Linked DNA regions of Homo sapiens: all the other regions are linked to region 1. The links are contacts of gene promoters, found by promoter capture Hi-C in blood cells and fetal thymus (Javierre and others, 2016). All regions are on one chromosome and are shown on one strand. Each heading gives the region's core, a stretch centred on a gene start or on the middle of the fragment in contact. The rest is flanking DNA. Distances are from core to core; before and after follow the strand shown.

Evidence for each region. The method cuts DNA at HindIII sites, captures the fragments that hold promoters and counts their contacts. A CHiCAGO score of 5 or more calls a contact.
Region 2: the fragment with the promoter of HSD3B7 here is called in contact with a fragment that was not itself captured in region 1 in 2 of 17 cell types (fetal thymus and naive B cells); the score reaches 8.8 in fetal thymus.
Region 3: a contact is called between the fragment with the promoter of PYCARD here and a fragment that was not itself captured in region 1, in 2 of 17 cell types (endothelial precursors and activated CD4 T cells). The highest score is 6.1, in endothelial precursors.

What each region holds. Positions count from the first base shown.
Region 1 is chr16:31,853,253-31,857,443 of GRCh38, reverse strand. No RefSeq gene overlaps it. Among named protein-coding and RNA genes, the nearest start is that of ZNF267, 18 kb to the left of the region's middle. The HindIII fragment of the contact is 2,825 bases long and covers 422-3,246 here.
Region 2 is chr16:30,982,266-30,986,456 of GRCh38, reverse strand. HSD3B7 (hydroxy-delta-5-steroid dehydrogenase, 3 beta- and steroid delta-isomerase 7) reads right to left here and starts at 1,250. Exons shown (of 7, transcript NM_025193.4): 1 at 1,160-1,250; 2 at 633-804; 3 at 253-408; 4 at 1-34. The coding sequence starts at 798. SETD1A (SET domain containing 1A, histone lysine methyltransferase) reads right to left here. Exons shown (of 19, transcript NM_014712.3): 18 at 2,685-2,822; 19 at 1,793-2,607. The coding sequence ends at 2,434. RefSeq lists an enhancer at 1,269-1,781. The HindIII fragment of the contact is 29,451 bases long and covers 1-4,191 here.
Region 3 is chr16:31,200,949-31,205,139 of GRCh38, reverse strand. PYCARD (PYD and CARD domain containing) reads left to right here and starts at 2,380. Exons shown (of 3, transcript NM_013258.5): 1 at 2,380-2,723; 2 at 2,937-2,993; 3 at 3,299-3,654. The coding sequence starts at 2,450. The coding sequence ends at 3,555. It overlaps PYCARD-AS1 (PYCARD antisense RNA 1), which reads right to left and starts at 3,255. Exons shown (of 2, transcript NR_102400.1): 1 at 3,154-3,255; 2 at 1,688-2,680. RefSeq lists a silencer at 2,030-2,389 and enhancers at 2,500-2,729, 2,919-3,549. The HindIII fragment of the contact is 5,508 bases long and covers 1,200-4,191 here.

The sequences.
Region 1 (4,191 bases), core at 585-3,084:
AAGATGTTAAATTTTGTCAAATGCTCTTTCTGCATCTATTGAGATGATTGTATGGTTTTTGTATTTCATTCTGTTAATGTGATGTATTGTGTTTATGGGTTTGTGTGTGGAAATCCATCCTTCCATCCCTGGGATAAATCCTACTTGATTGTGGCATGTTATCTTTTTGATGTGCTGTTGCATTCAGTTTGCTAGTATTTTGTTGAAGATTTTAACATCTTTATTCATCATATTAAACTGTAGCTTTCTGTTTTCATTGTATCCTTGTATTGTTTTCATATCAGGGTAATGCTTGCTTCATAGAATGAGTTACAAAGAATTCCCCCCCCTTCTATTTTTTGAATACTTTGAGAAAAATTGATATTAGTTCTTCTTTATAAGTTTGGTAGAATTCAGCTGTCAAGTTATCAAGCCCCAAGCTTTTATTTGCAGAGAGACATTTTATTACTGTATCAATCTCATTTCTCATTATTGGTTTGTTTGGGTCTTCTATTTCTCCCTGATTCAATAGTGATAGTTTGTATGTGTCCAGGAATTTAGATATTTTCTCTAATTTTTCCAGTTTGTTATCATGCAATTGTTCTTAGGAGTCTCTGATTATCTTTCATACTTCTTTCTGCAGTATCAGTTGAAATGTCTGCTTTTTCATTTCTGACATTGTTTATTTGGGTCTTTTCTCTATTTTTTGTCTAGCTAGTGGTTTATGAATGTTGTTTCATGTTTTCAAAAAAAGTTTTATTTCATTGGCCCTTTGTATTTTTTTAAGTTTCTAGTTTGCTTACTTCTCCGATTTTTATTATTTCTTTGTTTGTTTGTTTGTTTTGTTTTGTTTTAAGACGGAGTCTTACTCTGTTGCCCAGGTTGGACTGCAGTGGTGCCATCTCGGCTCACTGCAGCCTCTGCCTCCTGGGTTCAAGCAATTCTCCTGCCTCAGCCCCCTGAGTAGTTGGGATTACAGGTGTACTCCACCACACCTGGCTAATTTTTGTATTTTTTAGTAGAGAAGAGGTTTCACCACGTTGGCCAGGCTGGTCTCAAACTCGTGACCTCAGGTGATCCAGCTGTCTCAGTCTCCCAAAGTGCTGGACTACAGGCATGAGCCACTGCACCTTGACTGATTTTTATTATTCCTTATGCTTATGTTGAGCTTAGTTTGTTCTTGCTTTTTTGGTTTCTTGAGGTGTATCATTAGGTTGTTTACTGTAAATATTTCTACTTTTTTGATGTAGGTATTTACTGCTGTAAACTTCCCTCAACACTGCTTTTGCTGCATTTCATAGTTTCCAAAATATTGTGTTTTCATCTTCATTTTTTAAATATTTGTTTGGATTTCTGTATTAACCCAATGGTTGTTCTGGAGCATGTCATTTAATTTTCATGTATTTGTACAGTTTTCAAAGTTCCTTTTGCTACTGATTTTTGGCTTTATTTCACTGTAGTATGAGAAAATACTTGATATGATTTCAATTTTTAAACATTTGTTAAGACTCGTTTTCTGGCCTAACAGAGGGTCTATCCTGAAGACTGTTCCATGTGCTTCTGAGAAGAATGTATGTTTTGCAGTCATTGGATCAAGTGTTCTGCAGATGTCTGTTAGGTTCCTTTGGTCTAAAGCAACGGTGCCTAACCTTTTTGGCACCAGGAACTGGTTTCGTGGAAGACAATTTTTCCTAGGACTAGGGGAGGGGGATGATTTCAGGATAATTTAAGTGCATTACATTTATCATTAGATTCTCATAAGGAGCATACAGCCTGGATCACTGGCATGTGCAGTTCACAATAGGGTTTGAGCTCCTATGACAATCTAATGCTGCTGCTGATCTGACAGGAGGTAGAGCTCAGCTTCACTGGCTCACCTGCCACTCACCTCCTGCTGAGCTTCCTGGTTCCTAACAAGCCAGGGGTGGGTATTGGTCTGTGACCCGACGGTTGGGGACCCCTGGTCTAAAGTACAGTTTAAATCTGATGTTTCATTATTGATTTTCTGTCTAGGTAATCTTCCAGGGCTTGTCTAGTGGTGATGAATTTCTTCAGTTTTTGCTTGTCTGGGAACGTCTTTATTTCTCCTTCATTATGAGGTATAACCTTGCTTAGGCTGTGTTTGCTAGTTGAGGCTGTGGTGAGGTTTTGGTAGGAATGGAACACCAGATAGGCCAGTCCTTCAGCCCCCATGGTGACAGTGGCAGCAGTAAAGGGTTGAGGGTGTCTGTCCTTGGGCTGCTGGGTAGTGTATGTGGGCACTGGTGTTAGTGTGCCTAAGCCTGTTGATTCTCAGGCCTTCAGGAGGCTTGCTCTGATGTCTGTAGTAACAGCAGTGGGCTAGGAAATGGGGCAAGTCCTCAGGCCTCTGAGCAGTGTGTACCGTGTGGATGAGGAGAGTAGTGGGGTTGAGGCAACTTCAGGCTTCCAGGCAGCACTCACAGTGTTTGTGGTGGCTGCAATGGGCTGAATCAGACAGTCCCTAGAGCCTTAGGTGACACATGAGTGTGGATGCTGGTGGTTGTCTGGGTGGGCCCATCCTTAGGACCCCAAGAGTACCCAGATGACAGCAGTGGTGGATGGCATGGGAGATTCCTAGACCTTTAGACAGCATGCTTGAGTGCTGGCTGCACATTTTCTTGGCCTGTTTTTAGGACCCTGGTGGACTCATGCCAGAGGCTACCACCTGTACAATGCTGTCCTCAGGTCCACAAGTGGAATATTTGACCACTAAGGGTGGGAGAGAGGCAGGTGAGGTGGGCCTGTTCTCAAGTCCTCCTAGTGATGCACATGAGCATAGGCTGTGGGCAGGGCAGGGGAAGTCCCAGACCTCTGGAGCTCATGCTAGGGCACCAGTGATGGCAGGCCTTCTGGAGCTGTTATTAGGCCCCTGGGAGATGGGTGCACCAAAATCTCAGAAATCGCCACTAAAGAATTTATTCATGTGCAAATAAATAAATAAATAAATAAATTCACTTACACTGTCTTATAATTATGTAATTAGTTTTGCTAGTGTGTGCTTTGTCTTTCTTATGCATTCAAATTATTGTCTGGATTTACTTGCTTTCAGCCTGAAAAACTTCTTTTGCCATTTTTTCATAAGGTCAGTTGGCTAGCAACAAATTGTATCAGTTTTTATTTACATAAAATGTTTTTATTTAACCTTCATTTTTAATAGCTAGTTTTTGTGGGTATAGGGTTCTTATTAGGCAGGCTTTTTCTGTGAGCATCAGACAAAATAATTTATAAAGAAGTAATTGAAAAGCTTCAGAGAAGGAAAATAAATCAAGACCTAAGGACACTGACTGGATTGAGCACCAACGTCATAGTGATGGCAGCTGGGTTTAAGATGACAGGGAGAATTGTCACTGAAGACAGTAGAAGTCTGGGGATCAAGTGGTCCTGACTGCAGCTGAATGGAAAGTTTATTTTGTATTTTATTTTATTTTAATTTTTGAGACAGAATCTCGCTCTGTTGCCCAGCCTAGAGTGCAGTGGCCCGATCTCAGCTCACTGCAACCTCTGCCTCCTGGGTTTGAGTGATTCTTCTGCCTCAGCTTCCTGAATAGCTGGGATTCCAGGTGCCTGCCATGATGCCTGGCTAATTTCCGTGTTTTTAGTAGAGACGGGGTTTCACCGTATTGGCCAGCTGGTCTCAAACTCCTGACCTGAAGTGATCCGCCTGCCTTGGCCTCCCAAAGGGCTGGGATTGCAGGCATGAGCCACCGTGCCCGGCCTGGAGAGTTTATTTGTTAGAGCCTCAGATATGGCACATGAGAGGTACACCAGCATGAACTCAAACATATTCAGAACTGGTGCCTTGGGGGAAAATCTATAGATTAAGTGCATGAGAAGTCACCACTTCAGTATCAGATGATGTTTGATTAAGAAAGTGTAACTCCAAATGTGGCAATCATGATCAAGGTTAAAGTTAGCACTAGTTATAACATAGGTGTGGTTGGTGGTGTCTCAGAAGCAAATAAAAGTTGTCAGTTGCTAAGAATGTGTTAATCATTTTATTCCACATGCTCTCATGCTGACTGTGTAGTTAAACATCCCTGTAAGTAGAAACAACTTCACTGTAAGCGCTATGTAAGCCTGGTGCAGGGGGCATTTTCTTCATTCCCAAAAAAGTTTTACATAGACTACCTGTAATATTGAAACGTAGGGACAACTGGGGACCATGTGTGAAGGCCCCCAGAAATTTCTTCA
Region 2 (4,191 bases), core at 1-2,500, 870 kb after region 1:
GTCTGCACACAAGCCTCGATCACGTTCCGGGTACCTGGCAGAGGAGGAGGCGTATCCAAGCTGCAGCTTCTTCCCTCTCTGCATCTTCCTCCTCCCCATCCCAGGTCCAGGGAAAACCATGACAGGTCAGGGGAGGCGGGGGCAGGGCTGTCAATAGGACAACTTGTCCCAGGGGAGTCACCGGAGGTCAAGGCCAAAGACAGAGTGGGGAACAAACAGGCAAGATGGCCAGGAGTGTCCAGAGCTCCTCACCCTGCACGTTGACCTCATGGATGGTCTTGGGACTGGCCCTGCCAAACACGTCTACCAGCCCAGCCGTGTGGATGACCACATGGGCTCCGGCCACAGCTGCTGCCACCTCATGGGCCTGGGTCACGTCCCCCTGGATGGCAGTCACCCTCACAGGCCCTGGCCGGGGTTGGAGGACACAGGCCATGTCAGAGCTGGGGCCAGAGGCCAGAGGCTGGGTTCATCTTCCACCCTGGAGTCACGTTCCCAATGTGACTCACTCGACCCATCCATGTGGACAGAAACCAGCATCATCTGTTCCACTGCAGGGGTGGGGATCCCAGCTTGGGAAGGGTTGGGGAAGCGTCCACACCCTCTCCACCACAAGCTCCCCCAACAAGAACCTGTCTTCAGCTCCTCCAGCCAGGGACCCAGGTGTTGGTCAAAGACCCGCAGCTCCCCGAGCCGGGGCTCCCGCTGCAGCAGCATTCGCACCACGTGCTCTCCCAGGAAGCCACAGCCCCCTGTGACCAGGTACACCAGCTTCTGGGCCTGTGCAGAGTCGGCCATGCCTGGCTGGGGAAGAGACCTTGGCTCATCCAGGGGCTGGCTGCCACCTGCTGCAACCACCTGTTACTGCTGGAGGTGCCCTGGAGCGGTGACGAGGCTGGCGTTTGCGGGGAGGGCAGAGCTGATCCTGGGAGCTGCAGCAACCAGGCCACCTGCCGTCTGCCCCTGCTGATGGCTGAGTTACGGAGAGAGGGGCGGGCTTGGGGTGCAGGAAGGGGTCAGGGTTTAGGGAGAGAGATTTGAAGGCAGTAAAAGGGTGGGGAGGCCAGGAGTTGAGGGAGGTGGAGGGAAGGTTATAGGAAGGTGGGAAGGGCCGGATGGAGGGAAAGGCCACCTGGGCACTGGCAGCGCCTCTGCCTACCTGCAGCCGCTATCCCAGGGTGCCCAGACTGGCCTGGAGGGGCCCTCTTCTTTCGTCCAGGGCTGGCCGGCCCGCACACCGTCCTTCCGCTGGCTCCTCCTTCTCCCTCCTGCCCCATTCCAGGAACAGAGACCCGCCCAGCCACAACCCCCACCACTCTTGCCCCAAGGCGCCCCCTGGCGGCCGCTCTGTGCTCCACTGGCATCTGGGTCCAGCGGAGAACTTGGTGGGGATGAAGCTCGAACTTGCAGAGTGGGCTGAAGGGGTCTGGGGCTGTGGGTGGAGCCAGCGGTGACCTCATCCCACAGTGTGACCTCAGGCCTTCCCTCCTGCTGGGCTTCCCAGGAGGCCGGAGGTCCAGCTGCAGCTGTGATTGTAGGAAGGGGAGGCCTGACCTTGGCACCACCCTGGCGGGCACTGGTGGGGTATTCCTGGTGCGGGTGCGGCTGCTGCAGCCTGTCAGGGGGTCCGAGACAGTCTCGGACTGTCTCTGCAGGTCTGGGCTCTTGCCTGAAGGCCCCTTTACCTGCCCCACACTTCAGGTACCCACTTTTCCCTCTCTTCAACTTGCACAACCCTCCGTGCCCTCTACCCCCAACCCCTCGCTCCTGCCCAAATACACCGACCAAACACTTTTGTACAATAAAGTTTAATCACAATTATAAAAATGTGGCGTCGGGTTTGCGCTATTAACATATGTACAGTCCAGCCCAGCAAAAGGGACCCACCCCGCCATCCTGGCCTGGCTGAGCCGGGGAGTGACACCAGGGTGGAAGGGTGACCCTCAGGGTCTGGCAGGAACAGATGAGGCAGGGTTCCAGGCACGGAGTCCCCAGGACTGGGGGTGCAGAGCCCCCCCAGGGGGAGAACATGGCCACTGCCCCAGAGACCCCTAAACTGGGGAGGGGTACACGCAGGGCGTAAGGGGAAGTCCCCATTAACACAAAGCAAGAGGACTGTGTAGCCCCCCAGGACAGAATCTGTACAGGCCGGCACCCCAGGTTTCCACAGGAAACAGCTGCTGGCTGCTACAAAACATTTACAGCTTCTTCTCCGCAAAGAAAAACAATCAGGGGGTGGTGGGCAGGGGTGACAGGAGAGGCAGAAGCTGCCTCCAGGGACTGAGGCTCCCTCGCTGGGCTTGGGGCCCCCAACCCCACGCTTGGAGATGGGGGCATGTGGGCCCTGCTGAGCCCACTAAGGCTGGGGGGGTGCTGGGAGCTCAGGGCACCAGGGGGAATAAATAGGGGTGTGGGCACCCATCCTGCCCCACCTCAGTTTAGGGAGCCCCGGCAGCTCTCTGTGCCACACAGACACGGGATCTTGTTGTCTTCCAGTGGGAACTTGTAGTCGTAGGTGATCTCCTCGTCCACGCCAATGGGCTGCTTGGAGTAGATCACGATCTTCTTCTGGGACTCGATGGTGATGACCTTGGCGTAGCAGTTAGGCTGCGGATGGAAGGGCGTGTGAGCCGTGGCCACCCCCACCGACCCCCAACTCCTGCCCCGGCTGGCCCCTGGCGCACCGTGCAGCAGTGGTTGATGAATCTGGCCAGGTTGCCACACTTGGTGGCATCGATGATGGTGTCGTGGTCCACCCGGAACAGGTAGCTGCTGCCAATGCCCTCCTGCACGTAGCGCTTCTCCCGCATGTCGGCCACCATCTGCCAGGGTGAGATGCGATGGTCAGGGAAGAGTCCCCCACTTCCTGCCCCTGAGCACGCCTGCCAGCCAGCACCCCAGGTCCACGCCCACCAGGCCTGGAGCTGCAGCTCTGCCTCCAGCTCCCGCTAACCCGGCACTGACTCTCTCGACTCTGCTTCCAGGAGCCCTCCCTCTTTGGGGCAGCATCCTAAGCCTCTGGTGGCCATTCTAAGTCACCCGCAGGGAACTCCAGGGAAATCTGCACTGGGTAAGAGAGCCACTGACTCCTTCGAGCATCTGCCTGGTCACAGTGGGGTCCCGGACTGCTGGGGCAAGTCTGGGGTTGGGGCAGCTCCTGAAATGACTGGCCATGTCACCAACGGCACCCTGCTCATCTCTCCTCCCTGGACCTCTCTCCAAAACAGGCACCTGTTGGCTGCCACCGGCTAATGCAAATGGCAGGCCGCCCATGTCAGGCCCCGCACCTCCGTGTGAGGAGCAACCCTTACTTCCCAGAAGACAGTGAGGAGCCTCTGCACGCCCTCCTCGGGTGACCTCACTCCCTTCCAGAGCCTCAGCCGCCAGCTATGTGGTGGGGACTCCTCCCAAACTTCCATTTCCAGCCAAAAGCCACCTCAGTGGAGCTGCTGGGCGTCATCCCCTAGATGTCCCTGGGGCATTGCAACCCCACATGTCCAGACTGGAGCTCATCTTGACCATATATTTGTTCTTCCTCCTCACACCCATCTCACTGGCCCTCCCATCATACTCCCAGCAGCTAAGAGCAGCACCGAGAGAGGGCCTCCCGTCCCCCTCACCCTCTCACTGCTGAGCCCAGCCAACCACCTTGCACCCAAAGCCTCCTCTCTGTCACCTCTGCTGCCACTGCTTGGGTCGGGCCACCCTTGCCTTTGCCTGGATACTGGTGTCAGCCTAGACATGGAGCTCACTAGCCATGGGGCCCTCTCCTGCGGAAGGACCCTCTCCTGCGGAAGGACCCTCTCCTGAAGAAAGCTCCGGGACTTTCCTCCTCTCTCACCACAGGCCCAAGTGGATTCACAGGCTCCCAAGCCCGTGCGGTCTGGGCTCTCTGTTCCCTCCAGCCACACGTCGCTGCCACTGACCCTGTTTTTTCTTTTCTTTTTTTTTTTTTTGAGACGGAGTCTTGCTCTGTCGCCCAGGCTGGAGTGCAATGGCGCGATCTTGGCTCACTGCAACCTCTGCCTCCCAGGTCCAAGCGATTCTCCTGCCTCAGCCTCCCTAGTAGCTGGGATTACAGGCGCCTGCCACCACGCCTGGCTAATTTTTGTATTTTTAGTAGAGACGGGGTTTTAGCATGCTGGCCAGGCTGGTCTCGAACTCCTGACCTCAGGTGATCTGCCTGCCTCA
Region 3 (4,191 bases), core at 1,131-3,630, 650 kb after region 1:
AGGGGCGGAGGTTCACGGATCAGCAAGCTGGAAGGGGCAGCTGAAGAGGTTGGCAAGGACCTTGAAGGCCAAGCCAAGGGCTTGGGACTTGAGTTTGAGGGCACTGGGGAGTCATGAGGGGGTCTCTGAGCCAGGCAGGTGCAGGATCATATGTGTGGGTTAGGAAGATGTATCCTTCTGGCCACAGTGCACAAAAGGAAATGGAGATTCTGGAAGGATAAAGGCCAGTGAGAAGGCATGATAAACATCCATGAGCCAAGGAACACTGGCTGTTGGACCACAAGTGCCACCCATGGTGAGGATGTTGGCACACAGCTTACCCCAGCCCACATGCTACAAGGATGGGGAGCAAGGCCAGGCACAGTGGCTCACACCTGTAATCCTAGCATGTTGGGAGGCCAAGGCAGGAGGACTGCTGAGCCCAGGACTTTGAGACCAGCCTGAACAACATAGGGAAACCCATTCTCTATAAAAATTTTAAAAACTAGCCAGGCATGGTGGCACAACTGTAGTCGCAGGTACTCAGGAGGCCGAGGTGAGAGAATTGCTTGAGCCCAGGAGTTCAAGGCTGCAGTGAGCCACAATCCCTCCGGTGTACTCCAGCCTGGGCAACAGAGTGAGGTCCTGTCTTCAAAAGAAAAAACAAACAACAACAACAACAACAACAAAAAGGCTTTCAGCAGGGTAGCAGAGCACTGCTCCCCATCGTGGTTTTTGTTTGTTTGTTTTTGTTCCTGTTTTGAGATGGAGTTTCGCTCTTGTTGCCCAGGCTGAAGTGCAATGGTGTGATCTCAGCTCACTGCAACCTCCACCTCACGGGTTCAGGCGATTCTCCTGCCTCAGCCTCCCCAGTAGCTGGGATTACAGGCACCTGCCACCACGCCCGGCTAATTTTTGTATTTTTAGTAGAGATGGGGTTTCACTCTGTTGGCCAGGCTGGTCTCAAACTCCTGATCACCCACCTCGCCCTCCCAAAATGCTGGGATTACAGGCATGAGTCACCGTGCCCGGCCCATCCTGGTTGTCTTGTTTGTTTTTGAGACAAGGTGTCTGTTGCCGAGTGGCACAGAGTGCAGTGGCACAATCATAGCTCACTGCACCCTCAACCTCCTGGGCTCAAGTGACCCTCCGGCCTCAGCCTCCCAAAGCACTGAGATGACATGCGTGATGAGCCACTGCACCCAGCCATGCTGGAAGCTTTTGAATACAACATGCTGCAGGCATCACAGCCTCATTCATTCCTTCACTCAGCAAATCTTTACTCAGCACCTAATGTGTTCCAGATACATTTTTTTTTTTCAGATGGAATCTAGCTCTGTCACCCAGGCTGGAGTGCAGTGGTGCAATCTTGGCTCACTGTAGCCTCTGCCTCCGAGGTTCAAGCGATTCTCATGCCTCAGCCGCCCTAGTAGCTAGGATTACAGGCGCCCTCCACCACACACAGCTATTTCCAGGTACATTCTTGACGCTAGGAATTCAGCAAAGAATAAGACAGTTAAGGTCTCCGATGCTCATAGGCCTCACATTTTAGAGAGGGATGAATGTCCAATAAGCATATAAACGTATAATATGTCAGGGTCGTATGACTACAAGGAACAGTGATTGTTACAACCCAGATGAGAGGGAAAAATAAAGGATTCCAAATATCCCCCTTGGGAAGTAGAGTCAGGATTCAAACAAAGAACTGTATGGCTTCAAGTTCATGGTCTTTAATCTCCTGGAGGCTGTCTCTCTTTCTTTTTTCTTTTTTTTAATCAGTGTTGGGATCAAATTCTGGCTCCCCTAGGAAGCATCTGGCAAGGTTTCGGGAGCCATCGGGTTGGCCATGTTATGCTGGAATATTTATAAGCACCGGAGGGTTATCCCCATGTCGTAGAAAATGAAACTGAAGCTCAGAGAGATTTGCACTCTCTGCCCTTTTGTACAACTCATTTTTCCCCAGTATGTGGAATTGAGGGAGCTTCACGCTTCTAGCTGTCATGATTCCAAGATTCTACGACATGTGGGAGAGGATCCTAAGGTTCGGGGAACCGCGGAGGTTTCGGGGTTCTAGAAATCCGAGGTTCTAAGCCTAGGTGCTCCAATAAACCCAGTGAGAGCCAGCCCAGGTTTCCGGTCTGTACCCGCTGGTGCAAGCCCAGAGACAAGCAGGCGCCACCCATGAGCCCCTCTGCGGCCCCCTCCCGGGTCCCACCTCGCAGGCCAGCTGGAGGGCGCGATCCTGGCGTCCCCCGACGGCCTGGGGCCCCAATCCAGAGGCCTGGGTGGGAGGGGACCAAGGGTGTAGTAAGGAAGCGCCTTTTGCTGGAGGGCAACGGACCGGGGCGGGGAGTCGGGAGACCAGAGTGGGAGGAAGGCGGGGAGTCCAGGTTCCGCCCCGGAGCCGACTTCCTCCTGGTCGGCGGCTGCAGCGGGGTGAGCGGCGGCAGCGGCCGGGGATCCTGGAGCCATGGGGCGCGCGCGCGACGCCATCCTGGATGCGCTGGAGAACCTGACCGCCGAGGAGCTCAAGAAGTTCAAGCTGAAGCTGCTGTCGGTGCCGCTGCGCGAGGGCTACGGGCGCATCCCGCGGGGCGCGCTGCTGTCCATGGACGCCTTGGACCTCACCGACAAGCTGGTCAGCTTCTACCTGGAGACCTACGGCGCCGAGCTCACCGCTAACGTGCTGCGCGACATGGGCCTGCAGGAGATGGCCGGGCAGCTGCAGGCGGCCACGCACCAGGGTGAGCCGCCCCCGTTCCCCTCCACCCCGTCTTTCCCCTCCACCCACACCAGCGCTTACCCCGCGGGCTCTTCCGCTTTCTGTTCCTCCTACCCCTAAACAAAGCTGCTCTACCGGAAAGGAGGCTCCCCACGCTTGGCCTACCGACCAACGGGACCCCGGCCCCACGGCGGGAAGGGAAGGGAAGGGGATCACTTGGCCCATATCCTTCCAGGCTCTGGAGCCGCGCCAGCTGGGATCCAGGCCCCTCCTCAGTCGGCAGCCAAGCCAGGTGAGGCCTCCACACCCAGCCCGGCCCCACCGCACTCCTGCACAGCCTGCATCTGTGCTCCCGCAACCAGGGCAGGGCAGGGCAGGGCAGGCACGGCTTGGCAACCCTGCGCACCCCACCCACCAACCCACACCCTGCGGGGGAAGGGAGACAATATTACCCTCATCCCACTGCATGTGGGGTCCTGGTGGCCGCCCCCTGGAGCCCTGCCCCTAGGCTTGCAGAGGAATTCCTGAAGAACTCAAGTTCAGCAGGGACAGGCCCCACACCCTGGCTGCTGGCTCATGTTCTCCTCCCACCCCCAGGCCTGCACTTTATAGACCAGCACCGGGCTGCGCTTATCGCGAGGGTCACAAACGTTGAGTGGCTGCTGGATGCTCTGTACGGGAAGGTCCTGACGGATGAGCAGTACCAGGCAGTGCGGGCCGAGCCCACCAACCCAAGCAAGATGCGGAAGCTCTTCAGTTTCACACCAGCCTGGAACTGGACCTGCAAGGACTTGCTCCTCCAGGCCCTAAGGGAGTCCCAGTCCTACCTGGTGGAGGACCTGGAGCGGAGCTGAGGCTCCTTCCCAGCAACACTCCGGTCAGCCCCTGGCAATCCCACCAAATCATCCTGAATCTGATCTTTTTATACACAATATACGAAAAGCCAGCTTGAACTTGTGTGTTTTCCTGCTTCTAGCCTGCTGGCATGTGCAGAGCTCAGCTATGCTTCAGAGGCCACCCAGCCTCCAGCTCCATGTCCCTAGGGTCTCTGGCACCCCAAATGCTTCCCCCATCCTTCCTGGTATCGCCATGGAATATCCCTCCTCATTCACCAGGTGGTGCTCCTCCAGTGCTCCCTAAAGGGTCTAACCTTACCATTATAGATAACAGCCTGTGACCCAGGTCCGAAGGTTAAAAGAGGCATGTACCAAAGGGCGCAAACTGGTGGGCAGCTCTGTCCAAGCCATTTAGAAACACACTAGTCTTCATAGCTCCCCTACCTTCCACATTTTCCACTGGAGAAAAATGCAGAATTAGAGAAATTTGCAGGGGGAGACACATTAGAGCATTATCTAAACATAGGACAGAAGAGCACAAGTCACCAAATTGCTCGAGGGCTCCTTCTGGTGCTGGCTCTTAACAGGCTTAAAGGCTCCCTCTGCCCCACCCCATCCCGTGGGGGAAAGGGTCATAGGTTGCACTTTGCTCAA